2 separate regions of the Homo sapiens genome follow, and region 2 is linked to region 1. Evidence: promoter capture Hi-C in 16 types of primary human blood cells and fetal thymus (Javierre and others, 2016). All regions are on one chromosome and are shown on one strand. Each heading gives the region's core, a stretch centred on a gene start or on the middle of the fragment in contact. The rest is flanking DNA. Distances are from core to core; before and after follow the strand shown. Region 1 holds the start of MCC (MCC regulator of Wnt signaling pathway). Region 2 overlaps LOC105379126 (a long non-coding RNA gene).

Region 1 (4,937 bases), core at 402-2,901:
ACTGTACTCCAGCCTGGGTGATAGAGCGAGATTCTGTCTAAAAAAAAAAAAAATTGTATCCAAAGTTGGAGTTTGCCTTTATTATTGCAAATGAGATAATAACCTTTCAAGTAGGAAAACAACAAAAAGGAAAACTATATAATGAAATTTCTTTTACTCCCAGAACCAAAATAACGAGACTTCCAGATAGAAATTTGCATGGAGTCAATCAGAATTACATATTATTTTCATTTCCGAACAGAATTACTCCATCAAGTTTTCTGATATCTTCCTAATGTTTCTCAGTAAAACTTTAGCAAAGTAATAAAAATTCACCTAAGAATGATCAAAATTGCGTTGAGTCCCAAATAAATAATTTTTTTTATTTTAAGGGAAAAATTCCGCACTTTGCTTTCTTTTTTTTTTTTTTAGGTAGGCAGGGACAATCAGGAAGCAGCCCCGGATTTTCAGAAACGATCTTTAGCATCACCAAGACATAGACTAAAGAAACATGTAATGCACAACTTAGGCTGCTCCTTCATCCAAGGCAATTCAAATTTCCACGGATACCAAGTCTTCAATGGCCGGTGTCAACCATTCAATAGAAGCATACCAGAAAATGTTGCGATTGCCTTCTTCACCACAAGAGTCTAAGTGACACAAATTTGGGCAGAAGTAATTATTTGGCCAAGCCGGGAGGCAGGAAGCTTAAATACCGCCTCTGTAGGAAGTGCGGGGGATCCGAAGCAAACACCCCAAAGTTTGTTTGTGAGTGGAGGCGCGGAGGCGCCCGGAGCCACGCCGAAGCTCACCTGGTCAGCGCACAGAGCCGGGTAGGAGTCGGGTCTAGCCCTAGTTTGCTCCTGAGCGCTTCGTTCCTCTCAGGCTACTGCGTTTAAATCAATACTGGGTGGCAAACGATACCCATTCTTTGGGCTCTGAAGTTTGGAATTCATGGGTTCTGCGGCACAAGAAAGTTTCTTCACAGGTTATTTCCCTGTCCGAGGCTGTCGCTTAGCTCATCTCCTCCCGGTGCGGCCCTGGGGTGTCCACCAAGCCGCCGGGCAGATCGCTGCCCCGTGCTGCGGCATCTTGATGCCCAGGACCCCGAGGCTGTGGGGCAGCCCCTCCTACCTGGGACAAGCGGCCAGAACTCCTTTTCCCACAGGGAAGAACACTCCAAGCCCCCGGAAGAGTGCGCATCCTAAGGAGATGTCTCCCAACGCCTAGACAAAGACAGCGCTGGGAAAAGTTGGACCAACTGGCACCCCCGCAAGGCGAACAGAGCAGTCCCCTCGGCCTTCGTGGCCGAGCCGGCTACGCGCTCTCGGAGTCGCGGCCAACTTTTCCCGCGAGCTTCTGAGCAACTTGCCGCAAGTTGGGGCGAGGGGGCAGAGCAGGGGTCAAGGGCGCGCGGAGGGACTGATCTCGCTCCTGTCGGTTTCCTCGTACCTCCCCGCGTACCTGCTGATGTATCCGTCCCCGTCGCCGTCGCACGTCTGGAAGAGGCGCCGCATCCTCTCCTCCTCGCCGGTGCTGGACGTGTCGCTGCTGCTGCTGCTGCTGCCGCTGCCGCCGCCGCCGCCGCCGCTGCTGGAGCTCCCCGCAGCCGCTGCCGCCGCGGCCGCCATCATGCGCCCGCTCCCTACTTGGGAGGAGGAGTACGCGCGACCGCAGCTGGAATCCGCGCGGCGCGCAAGCTGCCTGCAGCCCCGAACTTGCCTGACAACGGAGCATGCCCAGTGGCCGCCGGGGCGCTCCGGGCGAGGGATTCCACCTCTCCGGGTTTTGCCCGGACTGGGAAGATGGGCGCTCTGGAATCGCCCGAGGAGGCACCTCAGGGAAGAGGGAGGAGGGGAAGGTGGCTGGAAGAGTCAGGGAGCTAAGGGTGGCAACGGGAACACAAGAGGAGGCAGAATACACTGGAAGCCCCCGGGAAGGGTGTCAGCATTGTGCATCCGGCAACGACGCGGGCCCGGGACACTTGGGGACGCTTCAGGCAGAGGGCAGGTGTACTCCCGGCAGACCTTCTCCGACCGCCCGGAGTCATGGCTTCCTTTTCCAGAGAAGCTATATAAACACTCTCCTTCTGCAAACTCAAAACGGTGCTTGTAATCCCACTCTCCAGGATTGTTCCGGGTTCTGTACCCATAGCCACCAATGAGAACCGGAATGACTGGCCTTTTTATGAAATTTTGACACCTGTCAAGAAACCTGGCCCTCGCAGCCCTCATCTTGGCTCCCACTCTGTACTGGGAAGAGTCTGCACGCTGTGTGGCATTGTGTACGTTGGGTCAATTTCTGGAAACGGCTCACTCTACTGGCCAGGCATCACTAGAATTTCCCCCAACAGCTTTAATAATGCCAAGAGCGAACATAATAGATGGTCTCATTTGATCCACACTACAGACCTGGAAGATGCCTCTTTTATTATCAATCCTACGACTTAGGAAGTATTAATAGATAAGTACCTCATAGAGTTATCTTACATATAAAAGGAGAGCAGACATAATGCAGTTAGGACAATGTCTGACACCTAGTAAGTGCTCAACAACTGTTAGCTCTCATTGTTCCCAATTTACAGGTAAGAAAACTGAGGTACCAAGACCTGCTCAAGGTTCCAGGTTTAGTAAGTGTTAGGGCAGAGGCAAGCCCGGGCAGCCTAACTCCAGAGCAGGAGCCTTTAAACACTGCACTATTCCCCCATAGCCAAAGGGAAACCACAGTGAAGCAATTTGTGGTTTCGTGAATGACTCATTATTCTGTCCTGGATTTTCTGCCAGAGAGGCGTGTGAAGTTCTCTGGTGGTTTTAAAATATGTCCACAGATTCTTTGGTGCACCCCTCATCAAGAGGTGGAGTCTGTTGCTTCCCCTAAACCTGGATTGGACTTGTGACTGCCTTGACTTCTGAGACTAGGTTAGAAAAGGCAATGCAGATTGCACTTGGCTCTCTCCCTTGGGACACTTACCTTTGAAGCCTTGAGCTGCCTGAAAAGAAGTTTGGCTACCCTGAAGCTGGAGAAACCATGCAGAAAGACCATGTAAAGAAAAAAGGAGATGACCAAAGAGCTACAGCTGTTCTAGCCCTGGATCTTAGAATCTTCCCAGACTAGGTGCCAGACATGAGTGAGAGATGATGCTAGCTCTAGATGCTGCAACTGCATTGGAGACCCTGAGCAAAACTGGCTAACCAACCCCCAGAGCTGTGAAGATAATAATTAAAAATTGTTGTTTTAAGCCATTAAGTTTTGAGGTGATTTGTTATGCAGCAATATATAACTGGAACAAGTCCATATGTCTTGGGAATGTCTGCTAGGTCAGAAGGAAGGAATCTCTGCTCTCTTTCTCCTCCTCTCCACCCCATCTACCTATTCCTACTTTACTTCTTTATTATTCTCTAAGTTCCCAGTATTTCAGGGCACTAAAATCATAGATTCATGAGTTAATGAGTTAATGGGTTATCATGGGAGTGGGACTAGTGACTTTATAAGAAGAGAAGGAGAGACCTGAGTTAGCAGGCTCAGCCCCCTTGCCATGTGATGCCCTGCACTGTTTTGGGACTCTGCACAGAGTCCCCACCAGCAGGGTGGCCCATTGACCTTGGACTTTTCATTCTCCAGAACTGTAAGAAATAAATTCATTTCTTTATAAATCACCCTAGTTTCAGGTAGTCTGTTCTAAGCAACAGAAAATTGACAAGACCAGAAATTAGTACCGGGAGTGGGGTGTTAACGAAAACGAATACCTGAAAATGGAGAAGCAGCTTTGAAACTGGATAATGAGCAGAGGCTACAAGAATGAAGCAGCAGTCTAGAAAAAGCCTAGGTTCTAGTGAGGGCTGAGAAGACAGGAAGAACAGGGAAAGTTTGGAACTCCTTAGAAATTGGTTAAATGGTCATAATCAGAATGCTGATGGAACTATGGACAGTAAAGGCCATTCTGACAAGGTCTCAGATGGAACTGAGGAACAAGGTACAAGAAAATGGAGTAAAGACCATCCTTGTTATAAATTGGCAAAGAACTTAGCTGAACTGTTCTATGCCTGAGGGCTTTCTGGAAGGCTGAACTTGAGAGAGAGAAACTGGGGTATCTGGCCAAAGAAATATCTAAGCAGTAAAGCATTCAGGCTGCAGCATGGCTACTTTTAACCACTTACATCAAGCTGTGAGAGGGGGAAAAAAACTTTAAAGGTGGAATTTACAATCATAAGAGAAGCAAAGTGGAAAGATTTGGAAAACTCTCAGCCTGGCCATGTGAAGAGTGAAAAGGTGTGTTTGGGAGAGGAAACCAAGGGTGTAGCCCAGCAACCTTTTGTTCCAGAGATTAGTAAAGGAAGAAAGTATCATTACGAGAAGGAAAGACCTCGATGGCATTTCAGAGAACTTTGAGTTGTTCCTCTCATCACAGACCCAGAGGCAGGAGGACAGAATGGTTTCAGGAGACAGACATGAGGCACCTTTCATGGGCTTGCTGCCAAGGTCTCTCTCAGGTCTTTACTTCCCAAATTCTGGTACAGTGCTTTTTGGACATGCCAGCTGTGGCTCAAGAAGCTTTAGGTGTGAATTGACCTGTCACTCAAGAAGATGAGAACCATAGGCCTTAATGGCATCCATATGATGCCATTATAATTCTTCAGGTTTGCAGAAAGCGAGAGCTGTGGAGATGTGGGGTCTCCACCTAGATGTCAAAGGATTTTTGCTGAAAGCCTGGGTCCAGGCAAAGGCTTGTAACAAGGGCAGAGCACTTCAGAGAGCTCCAACTAAGGCAATGTTAAGCAGAATTGTAGGGTCAGAGCTGCTGCAGAGAGTTTCCAACAGAGCAATGCCTAGTGGAGCTGTGGGAACAGGGCCACTACCAGAACCCCAGAACTGTGGAGTCACCAACAGCATGCAACATCTACTTGAGAAAGCTTCAGGCACCAGGCTCCAACCTGTATGGGCAGCTGTATGGGCTGTAC
Region 2 (5,306 bases), core at 1,622-4,121, 520 kb before region 1:
CTCACTGCAGCCTTGGCTTCCCGGGCTCAAGCACTCCTTCCACCTCAGCCTCCTGAATAGCTGGGACTACAGGTGGATGCCACCATGCCAGGCTAATTTTTCTGTAGTTTTTGTAGAGACAAGGTTTTGCCATGTTGCCTAGGCTGGTCTCGAACTCAGTAGCTCAAGCAAACTGCCAGCCTTGGCCTCCCAAAGTGTTGGGATTACAGGCGTGAGCCACTGTGCCTGGCTGGGGAGAGGGTTCTTTAGGCTTCTCTGCTGAGGCCTCCTTATGGGGAGGGGAGGGGAAACCTTGACATTCTTTTCCAGGTTGCCTAGGTACTCAGTACTTTTCCACTCTTAGCCTTTCCCCCTTGCCTTCCCCTACTCCACCTCAGAGTCCATAAAACTGCTGGAGCTTTTTCTTCAGGGATCCCTTAACAGTGATATGACTCCATGACCCCCTACATCCGTGCTGACTCATGTGACCTGCAGCTAGTGCGCAGTTCCATGGGGGAAATGGAACAGAAACTGTGGGTACTTTCTCTGTTTCTTGTTTGTATCATTGCAGTAAACGCTACTCTCATTTTTGGCTCGTTGGTCTAATTGGCTACTCTGATACCTGTTAGCTCAGCTAGTGCTCTCTGTCTCTCTCCCAGCCCGTTTCCTGACAATTCTGGGTCCATTTTCCTACAGATCTTTCAGCTTTGCCCCATTCCACACATTAGCTTCAACCTCAAAGTGATAGTGAGTAGTAGTATATCAGTCACTGAGTACTGGCTGTAGAAGTTCCAGACATCATATCCTGACCTGATGACATCCAATGAAAGAAGAGAGACTTTTTCATCACGAAGTTTTAAGCAAGAGTTCTATGGTATACACTGACTGGACTATGTAGGTATGTACCTGTCCAGAGAATGGGTACATTTCCAGGGAATGGAGTGTGGTGTTTGATTTACCAACCAGATTTTGGCCTTTGAGCCAAAAGTGTTTCTGGCTTCCCCAGAGTCACATGTGCTGTGTGAGGGAAGCTAAGGGATACATGTCTTAATCAGGGTTCTGTTAGGAAAGAGTAAGGGGTGAATTCAGGGCCTGCTATTAATACATAATTTGCAGAGCCTGTTCCTCTCATGAAAATATAGAGCTCCTTATTCAAAAGGCAGGAAAAAAGTGTCACTAAAGGTGCTAGAAAGCCAGGCGAGGTGGCATACACTTATAGTATCAGTTACGCAGGAGGATTGCTGAGCCCAGGAGTTTAAGTCTGGCCTGGGCAACAAACTGAGACCTCATCTCTTAACTACAACAACAACAAAAATACTAGAATATAAAGGCTTTTTCTTTCTTTCACAGTTTCTCTCTTCACTTATGGTGTTTTTGATATTTAATGTCATTCTAAATAAAGATTAAAATTAAAATTAAGTAAAATTAAATTCATTCTAAGTAAAATTAAAATCATTACAAAGACTTTTTACCATCTTTATATTATGCAATGCTGGCTTTTTTTTTTTTTTTTCTTTTTTATTTTTTTTTTTGAGATGGAGTCTCGCTATGTCGCCAGGCTGAAGTGCAGAGATGCTATCTCAGCTCACTGCAATCTTTCCTCCCGGATTCAAGTGATTCTCCTGCCTCAGCCTCCCGAGTAGCTGAGATTACAGGCATGCACCACCACACCCAGCTAATTTTTGTATTTTTAGTAGAGACAGGGTTTCACCATATTGGCCAGGATGGTCTCGATTTCCTGACCTCATGATCTGCCCACCTCAGCCTCCCAAAGTGCTGGGATTACAGGTGTGAGCCACTGCGCCCAACCACAATTTTGGTTTTAAATGCAAATATAAGAACATTTAACTTGTACGTGGAATCACTGAAATTACATAATTCTTATTTCATACTTTGTACATGTATGATATATTTCATTGTTACCAGAACAGTCAAAATGCTGTACGAAAGTCAACTGTTTTTACGTCACTTCTTGATATGCACATACATATTCTACCACACTCTCTACCTTCTTATTGATGAGGAAAAAACTAAAAAGAAAAGGAAAAGATGGGTTGCTCGATCTTCCCCTTTCCTTCTATGTCATCATTTTCAGCATAAGGGGTTGGCTAAATCAGGAAAGCAATAGGAAAGGATATGATAGAGTTTCTTGGTTCTTTGTGTTTTTAGACTGCCATTGTCTTCTTGCATTAGAACAAGTTCTGATACACAGGAAGCTTGACCTCCTAGGGCTGACAGCGACCCCACCTACTCAGTTCCTATGTGCCTATGTTGTTCTTACTCTGAATCTTGCTGAACTTTCATGCATTGTGAGTTCAGTGAAATTCTATTTAAATAGGACAATGCAAATGCTATATGCAAATGGCATGGCAAAGAGTGAGTGGACATGCATATTGCACGTCTCGGCTCTGCTCATGCTCTATTGTCCCTCCAATTTTACTTACAAAACACAAGTTCAAAAACAAAATTGAGAATTTCAAGATGGTAACAGCAGAGCATTAAACCAAACATGGGGCCTTTCTGAGTGTAGGGTTCTGTGCAACTATACGGTTTATACATACACACACATGCAGCTGGCCCTGGGTAAATGAGTGCTGGGCATGCAAACAAGAATGACCACTACAACCTGCATTTACTGATTATGGAAAAGGGTTTGTGTGTAAAGAGAAAAAAAACCCAACAACAAAAAAACAAGATACTTTATGCAGCAAAAGTTTATTTTTTGCTCATGCAGAATCTGGAGCAAATGCTCCAGGGTAGCTCTCCTCCAAGCAGTACACTCAAGGGTCTGTGCTTTTTCCAGTGTGACTCCACTATCTAAAGAGTTCTTTGCTTTCAGCTGGGAAGAGAAAAGGGAGAAATAAAAATTATGTGAAAATTACATAGAGCATTTCAGGAGCTGTGCTTTGAAGTTGGGTATATCACGTTTATCTTCATTCCACTGGCCAGAACTCAATTGCGTTTTTCCATCTAAATGCAAGGAGGCCTGTGAATCCAGGAAGAGGAAACGGGATTGGTGAGTGACATGGTTTGGCTGTGTCCCCACCCAAATCTCATCTTGAATTGTAGCTTCCATAATTCCCATGTGTCATGGGAGGCACCTGGTGGGAGGTAATTGAATAATGGGGGTGGGTCTTTCCTGTGCTGTTCTCATGACAGTGAATAAATCTCACAAGACCTGATGGTTTTATATAGGGGAGTTCCCCTGCACATGCTCGTTTTGCCTGCTGCCATGTAAAATATGACTTTGCTCTTCCTTTGCCTTCTGCCATGATGTGAGGCCTCCCCAGCCATGTGGAACTGAGTCAATTAAACCTCTTTCCTTTATAAATTACCCAGTCTCGGGTATGTCTTTATTAGGAGTGTGAGAACGGACTAATACAGTCAGCATCTAGTAAGACTGCCATAGAGATCAAGGGAGATTTTTGTTTCTTGGTAGATGTTACTAAAACATATTATATGCTGTGGGAGATATTATACTAGAAAGAGTGTGGGACTAACAGAAGGGGCAATTATGTATTACTCTATAAACATTGAGTTGAACCATAAGAACTTTGTAGGGATGTGAAGAAGCTTTGACAGACTTAATTTAACCTCACTCTATTTAATTATTTATTTATTTTTATTTTTATTTTTTTTGAGTCAGAGTCTCGCTCTGTCGCCCAGGCTGGAATGCAGTGGTGTGATCTCTGCTCACTGCAAGCTCCGCCTCCTGGGTTCACGCCATTCTCCTGCCTCAGCCTCCCAAGTACCTGGGACCAAAGGCGTCTGCCACCACACCTGGCTAAGTTTTTGTATTTTCAGTAGAGACAGGGTTTCACCGTGTTAGCCAAGATGGTCTCGATCTCCCGACCTCATGATCCACCCGCCCTGGCCTCCCAAAGTGCTGGGATTACAGGCGACCTCACTCAATTTAAAAGGCCAATAAGCAAGTTAAATATTTTTTAGGATTCAGTGACAGCTTATTTTGTTGTGAGATTATTATATTTGAATATTATAGTATAATATGCTGTACAGGCATAAACAATAGTTTTTGTGTCATTCTCCCTAAGGCAGAATTCCTGCTATGAGTTTAGAACTGAATGCTAGTCCTGACTCAATTATATACTGTTGCTTAATCATTAATCTTTGAGTCATTTAATCTTTATAAGCCTCATTAATCTTTGTCTATTTCATGTAGTAATAAAGACTAAATGAGGCCAGGCACGGTGGCTCATGCCTGTAATCCCAGTGCTTTGGGAAGTTGAGGAAGGAGGATTGCTTGAGGCCAGGAGTTTAGGACTAACATAGGCAACCTAGTGAGACCCCTGTCTCTACAAAGTTTTTAAAAAAATAATTAGCCAGGCCTGGTGGTGCGCACTTGTATTCCTAGCTACTTGGGAGGGTGAGGTGGGAGACTGAGCCCAGGAGTGAGCTATGCCACTGCACTCCAGCCTGGGCAACAGAGTGGGATCTTGTTCCAAAAAAAAGACTAAATGAAATAGCATATTTTAAAACTATAAAGGTTTTAATCAACCTAATTATTTAAAAATCAAATCAGTATTATAATTTAAGAACCCTAGCATCTCCTGTTCTCCTGTTACCTCAACTCTAAGCTCCCCTTTGTCATTCTCAGCTGGGTCCTGTGAACAATTAGATGGAATTGAGGCCTTGGTGTCCCTATTCACTTTAACAGGGATGGCACTAGGTTCAAGAGGCTGAAGAAGAGACCCAGAGCCAGCAAATGAGGCATATGGTTTATTGAGAGGAACTTGCATACAGAGCGGTCCACTAGAGGTGAGCTGGACATGAGAACAACATCACCTGCAGAAAGCATGCAGTTTATATAGCATTTTCATTTTGCACCCTCTCCCTAACAGCTTCCACCTGACAACTTTCATTTAGCCCAAAACAAAGGGCCTAGCCCTCCTGTGCAGCCTGCATTCCACAGGGCTCAGATGTTCCTCATAGATAAGGAATGAATCTTGGTTGTAACTGCAAACTCATTCAGGTTGTCTGCCACACAGGGTCATTCCCCTGGGTCTGCTTACGTTACTGCTGTCAGGTGCCTCTACCATACAGTTGGCTTCTTTGGAAGTCATGGCTTGGGGGGCTGCTATAAGGGTTGCACTAGTCCAGCTCCTGGAAATCTGTGTGTGAGGAGGCAGTGGAGGGATGGGGCATGGGCAAGATAATATCTTGGACCACAGACATCTCAGAAACTCTTAATAAGGCAGATTGGTTTAACACCATGTGAGAGTTTGGGGACTTCCTGGCCTCTAAGAGCCCAAAAGGGGTTGTATAGCTGCCCCTAAACTGGGAGACTAGAAAGCTAGTAAGAAGAATTC

What was found. Contacts are between HindIII fragments. The CHiCAGO score rates a contact against its expected background, and 5 or more counts as called.
Region 2: a contact is called between a fragment that was not itself captured here and the fragment with the promoter of MCC in region 1, in 3 of 17 cell types (naive CD8 T cells, total CD4 T cells and activated CD4 T cells). The highest score is 7.0, in naive CD8 T cells.

The regions. Positions count from the first base shown.
Region 1 is chr5:113,486,802-113,491,738 of GRCh38, forward strand. It overlaps MCC (MCC regulator of Wnt signaling pathway), which reads right to left and starts at 1,652. Exons shown (of 19, transcript NM_001085377.2): 1 at 1,444-1,652. The coding sequence starts at 1,613. RefSeq lists an enhancer at 1,551-1,845. The HindIII fragment of the contact is 3,844 bases long and covers 685-4,528 here.
Region 2 is chr5:112,969,136-112,974,441 of GRCh38, forward strand. LOC105379126 (a long non-coding RNA gene) reads right to left here. Exons shown (of 2, transcript XR_948679.3): 2 at 2,676-2,818. Among named protein-coding and RNA genes, the nearest start is that of DCP2, 5.0 kb to the right of the region's middle. RefSeq lists an enhancer at 600-679. The HindIII fragment of the contact is 1,357 bases long and covers 2,194-3,550 here.